Linked DNA regions of Homo sapiens: region 2 is linked to region 1. Evidence: promoter capture Hi-C in human tissues and cell types (Jung and others, 2019). All regions are on one chromosome and are shown on one strand. Each heading gives the region's core, a stretch centred on a gene start or on the middle of the fragment in contact. The rest is flanking DNA. Distances are from core to core; before and after follow the strand shown. Region 1 holds the start of FZD2 (frizzled class receptor 2). Region 2 overlaps TMUB2 (transmembrane and ubiquitin like domain containing 2).

The links. Contacts are between HindIII fragments. The study calls those that stand out against the background at their distance.
Region 2: a contact is called between a fragment that was not itself captured here and the fragment with the promoter of FZD2 in region 1, in 1 of the 25 tissues and cell types used here (stomach).

What each region holds. Positions count from the first base shown.
Region 1 is chr17:44,556,176-44,558,875 of GRCh38, forward strand. FZD2 (frizzled class receptor 2) reads left to right here and starts at 1,309. Exons shown (of 1, transcript NM_001466.4): 1 at 1,309-2,700. The coding sequence starts at 1,514. RefSeq lists enhancers at 1-573, 574-1,341, 1,559-2,519 and silencers at 1,016-1,115, 1,514-1,760, 2,006-2,055. The HindIII fragment of the contact is 9,533 bases long and covers 1-2,700 here.
Region 2 is chr17:44,191,641-44,194,379 of GRCh38, forward strand. TMUB2 (transmembrane and ubiquitin like domain containing 2) reads left to right here. Exons shown (of 4, transcript NM_001076674.3): 4 at 1-289. It overlaps ATXN7L3 (ataxin 7 like 3), which reads right to left. Exons shown (of 13, transcript NM_001382309.1): 13 at 165-2,739. The coding sequence ends at 2,623. Among named protein-coding and RNA genes, the nearest start is that of ATXN7L3-AS1, 5.8 kb to the right of the region's middle. The HindIII fragment of the contact is 9,798 bases long and covers 1-2,739 here.

The DNA of each region.
Region 1 (2,700 bases), core at 59-2,558:
TTACCAGGTGAGAGATGTGGAGGGGATAATTCACCACAACCCCCCAGTTTCCTCCCGCGTCACACACGCCACCCCTCTCTGGTGTGGAACCACTTAAGATTTGGGTAAAACTCCCCTCTCGCCCTGGAGACGGGATCTGGAAGCTTTTAGGGGGCGGAGGTAGAGGTGGGGAGGCAGAAGGAAAATTCCCTCAAACGTTCGTCAGGCCTAAGAGAGTCGTCCCTTCACTCAAAATTGCCCGTCACCCCCCGCCCCCCACCATTAACTTTCGATTAAGACCTCCTCCTTAGGGCAACTAAACTTTACTTTGCACAATTAAGATTTGCCGCAGAAGAAGCGGGAGGGAGAAGCCGCAGCTCCGGGCCATTCTCCTTTCCCTCGCTCCCTCCAAGCCCCCCGCCCCAACCCTCCAGCTCCGGGCCTCCGAGTTCCTGAGTTTTCTCACTTTGAGGTGCCACCGAACACAAAGAACCATAATGGGCTCCTTTGTGTTGGCTACGGGGCAATTACGCCTCGGAGTCCTGGTCCCTTTAAGAGTCTCTTAAAGAGACAGGATCCCATTTTTCAGAGGGTTTTTTAAGGGTGTGTGGAGGGGGAGGGCGAGGGATCTACGTGTAAAGTGAAGTGAAACTTTCGCCTGGGCTCCAGAAAGAGCGGACAGAAAAGGTCTTTGTAAATTGTTAGTTTTTTTAAAGTCTGTTTTAATTTTTAAATTTGAGATTTTTCACTCGATTTGAAAAATTGGACTAGGAATAGGTGGGGTTCGAGGATCGGGGGCGGGGGCAAGGGTTTAAAGAGTCCCCACCCGGCAGAGCACCTCGGCCCGGGAAGAGGAGTGAGCCAGGGTCGAGTAGTGTCCCCCGATCTCGCCGCGGCAACTCCGGAGAAATCCCGGGCTGGGCAAACAGCCCTTAATATAATAATAGCTTGTCTCTTTAAAAAGCAAAAGGGGGGGAAAGTTTTGTTGGCATCTGGTTTCTGATCTCATTATGTTGTGGTCGACCAATCCAGCCCTCGGGCCTGGTCCTCGGGTTTAAATCTGATTGGCCGAGAGCACATTTTGGGTTGGTGCTTAGAGCTCGACGGGGCGGTTTCAAGGATCCCTTTTTTGGGGGGCTGAGGAGAGGGCGGGGCCGCCAGCGGGGGCCCCCTTGAAACCGACTAATTGGGATCGGAGAGGCCGAGGTGAGGGCTGGAGGAGGCACAAAGAAGTCGCTGGGTGCAGAAGGGAGGGGAGAGGGGGAGCTGAGAGGCGAGAGGAGGAGGAAGAGGAGAGAGGGCAGCAGCGCGCGGTGTCTCCGGCTGCTCAGTCCGACCGCGGCAAGCAAGCGGGCAGGCGCACCGCCCCCTCCCCCGCCCGGCCTCCCCAACTCTGCGGCCGCGAGTAAAGTTTGCAAAGAGGCGCGGGAGGCGGCAGCCGCAGCGAGGAGGCGGCGGGGAAGAAGCGCAGTCTCCGGGTTGGGGGCGGGGGCGGGGGGGGCGCCAAGGAGCCGGGTGGGGGGCGGCGGCCAGCATGCGGCCCCGCAGCGCCCTGCCCCGCCTGCTGCTGCCGCTGCTGCTGCTGCCCGCCGCCGGGCCGGCCCAGTTCCACGGGGAGAAGGGCATCTCCATCCCGGACCACGGCTTCTGCCAGCCCATCTCCATCCCGCTGTGCACGGACATCGCCTACAACCAGACCATCATGCCCAACCTTCTGGGCCACACGAACCAGGAGGACGCAGGCCTAGAGGTGCACCAGTTCTATCCGCTGGTGAAGGTGCAGTGCTCGCCCGAACTGCGCTTCTTCCTGTGCTCCATGTACGCACCCGTGTGCACCGTGCTGGAACAGGCCATCCCGCCGTGCCGCTCTATCTGTGAGCGCGCGCGCCAGGGCTGCGAAGCCCTCATGAACAAGTTCGGTTTTCAGTGGCCCGAGCGCCTGCGCTGCGAGCACTTCCCGCGCCACGGCGCCGAGCAGATCTGCGTCGGCCAGAACCACTCCGAGGACGGAGCTCCCGCGCTACTCACCACCGCGCCGCCGCCGGGACTGCAGCCGGGTGCCGGGGGCACCCCGGGTGGCCCGGGCGGCGGCGGCGCTCCCCCGCGCTACGCCACGCTGGAGCACCCCTTCCACTGCCCGCGCGTCCTCAAGGTGCCATCCTATCTCAGCTACAAGTTTCTGGGCGAGCGTGATTGTGCTGCGCCCTGCGAACCTGCGCGGCCCGATGGTTCCATGTTCTTCTCACAGGAGGAGACGCGTTTCGCGCGCCTCTGGATCCTCACCTGGTCGGTGCTGTGCTGCGCTTCCACCTTCTTCACTGTCACCACGTACTTGGTAGACATGCAGCGCTTCCGCTACCCAGAGCGGCCTATCATTTTTCTGTCGGGCTGCTACACCATGGTGTCGGTGGCCTACATCGCGGGCTTCGTGCTCCAGGAGCGCGTGGTGTGCAACGAGCGCTTCTCCGAGGACGGTTACCGCACGGTGGTGCAGGGCACCAAGAAGGAGGGCTGCACCATCCTCTTCATGATGCTCTACTTCTTCAGCATGGCCAGCTCCATCTGGTGGGTCATCCTGTCGCTCACCTGGTTCCTGGCAGCCGGCATGAAGTGGGGCCACGAGGCCATCGAGGCCAACTCTCAGTACTTCCACCTGGCCGCCTGGGCCGTGCCGGCCGTCAAGACCATCACCATCCTGGCCATGGGCCAGATCGACGGCGA
Region 2 (2,739 bases), core at 240-2,739, 360 kb before region 1:
GTATGGATTGCTGGGCCCTAGGCTCTTGCTTCTGGGGCTATTGGAGGGTCAGTGTCTGTGACTGAATAAAGTTCCATTTTGTGGTCCTGCAGCCTCTTTCTGTGACAGAGAATGGCTTTGCGCTGCCCCCAGGAAAATGGTAATGAGAGTAGGTAGGCCGGGGCTACCAACGGGAGATGCAGTTTATTTACACCAGCAGCCATGGGGGCAGAGGGAATACACAGCGTTTACAAAGTTAGCTACCTGTACAGAATGGATTACATATGCAAAAATAAAAATCTCAAGACCACAGGACAGCGTGAGCCCCACCCCCCTCCCCCAATGACCCCAGCATGCGGTAATGCCAGGCGGGTGGCCCCTGGGCATGCGGGGGGGAGTGATGCATGGAAGGAAAAGCCACCGGCCATGGAAATTAGTACAGAACCCCCCCACACACACTCAGACACAGGATACAGGGTGGACGACACCTAGCCGGGGTGGGAAGGATGGGAATTGAAACCCACACAGCCTGCTGTTAGAGGGAGGGGAGTGGGGAGCTCCTAGCCCCTGTTCAACTACATGGTAGGGGGGGCACTCTCTCCCCAGAAGGAAAAGGGTTTGTTCCCTCAGGGTCCCTGCTGGACCAAGCCCATCTCTTACCCAGCCTGGGCAGGGGGCTCTGCCCTGAGGGCGGGCCAAGGAACAATGGGGAAGTTTATGTGGACAAACCAGTTCCCAAGCTACTTCCCACTTCTCCCTCCTCCAACCAGAAGGGGGGAAAAGGGAGAGGCCACAGGGCAAAGAGTGTATTAGGGCCTGAGCTGCAGCTGCCTCTCAGAAGGGAGAGTGGCCCACAGCCTTCCTCCCTTCACCTTCAGCCCACTCCCCAGACTGCATCTGGAAGCGGCTAGAGGCCTGCTGAGATCCTCCTCTCCCTCTGGCCTCCTCTCGGAGGGAGACTACGGAGGGCCAAGAATAGAGAAGCCCAGGCCCCGGGATTTATTCTAACTCCTGCCAAAATCTGTTTGGCTTTTTAAAAAATAATCACAATTTGTGGGTTAAAAACCAATTTGCAACCAGGCATGAGCCACAATCAGAACCACCCCAGCGGGAGAGCGGAGTTCCAGACAGGGCATTGCAGCCCCATCTCTGTTGTTCCCTTAACCCTCTAGGGTCCCTAACCCGATCAGTCCAACCAGTCCTGGGTACTAACTACCCAAATGTGGGATGGCTCCTCTTGGGAAGAGGGTAGGGGACATGTCCAGCAAGTGCCAGAGAACTTGGCTCAGGGTCACCTCCACCCATGTCAGTCAGCTCTGCTCCCAGCCCAGGTCGCGGTCCTCCAGCTTGGCTCCTGGGAGTGGTGGTGCCCGCATGGAGGGGGGACGGTACATCTCTTTAGGATGTAGACCAGGCAGGTGGGCACACTGGCATGACAGTCCCACAGAGGGGCAGTGACACCCCTTCCCCTCCACTGACAACCTGGGGCACAGAGGCCACCCTCTCTTCCCACCCAACTCCTAGCAAAGGGGGAGAGGCACAAGATTAGGATTTTCCTCAGAGCCCCAAACCACAAGTACAGAATAAATAACTTAAAAGCGCTAAGGAAGGGAAACAGGGCACGCTTTGGAGGCAGGAGCGCTGAGAGGAACTGAAGCCAGTCAAGGTGAAGGGGGTGGAAGCAGCAGTTGGGAACCTGGGCTGCCCCGGTAGGGCAGTGGGGCAGGGTGGGCAGGAGGAACACGGGGCCACCCCAGGAGGGTGAGGCTGGGTCCCTTCCTGGGGCAGGGAATGAGGTAAGAAAACATTTCAAATAAAGCAGCACCGTTCCCTCTCACCTTGGGGCCCCACTCCTCACCAGCCCTGGGTCAGGGAGGAGAGGCAGGGGGAGGAATTCTGACACTTCTCCCTCTTCCTACCCTCCCTTTCCCATTCCTTGAAGCTGTAGAGGCTGGAGGCCCTTTCCTGGCACCCAACAAAAGGACAGCTCCTGCTGCCAAGGAGGCCCATGGGGACTGAGGGGAAAGGGCTGCCCCTGTGAGGGGCAGGGAAGGTGGCGGCAGTTCTGGACGCCCACCTCAGCAGACAGCACTCTGTGCCTGCCTACCCCTGGGACTGGGGGCATTTGATAAGATTCTGCACACAGACAGGACATGCCCAGCCTTGCCCCTCAGCTCCAAGCACCGGACCCATTCACATTGCTGAGGGCGGCCGAGGCAGGCCCCCTCCAGGCTCAGCTTCCAACCCACAGCCTCCCGGGTCGCCACATTGCCCCTCAGCAGGGCTTAGTCCAGTTCCTGGGGTGGGGGGCAGGCAGTGCCCTGGCACAGTGCCCAGGTCAGGCCCCTGGCCTAGCTGGACATCCAGTAACTCACAGAATAAATAGGAAAACCGCCTCCCCACCAAACTTATGTCCAAGGCATAATATGTCCAGGTCTGAGTCCTGCACGCCGAGGAGTCGTGCTCCATTGCAGAGGACTTTGACACCCCCCAGGGGCGCATAATCGGATCCTCTGCCTGCCTGGCCCACCAAGCTTCCCAAGCCCCAACCCCCAGCAGCCGTCCATTTGCCAGGCTATGCCACCTGGGTGGGGGTCAGGAGAGAGGGCTCTGCTCAGCCAAAGGCTATCCCTTGCACCCAAGTCAGTTGATGTCATCATAGATGCTGGGCGTCGGGGGTGCCGGTGGCTTTGGCTTCTTCTTCTTGTTGGAACCTAGGCCGGAGGCAGTCCCTACCAGGCTCAGATGGGATTTCTTTTT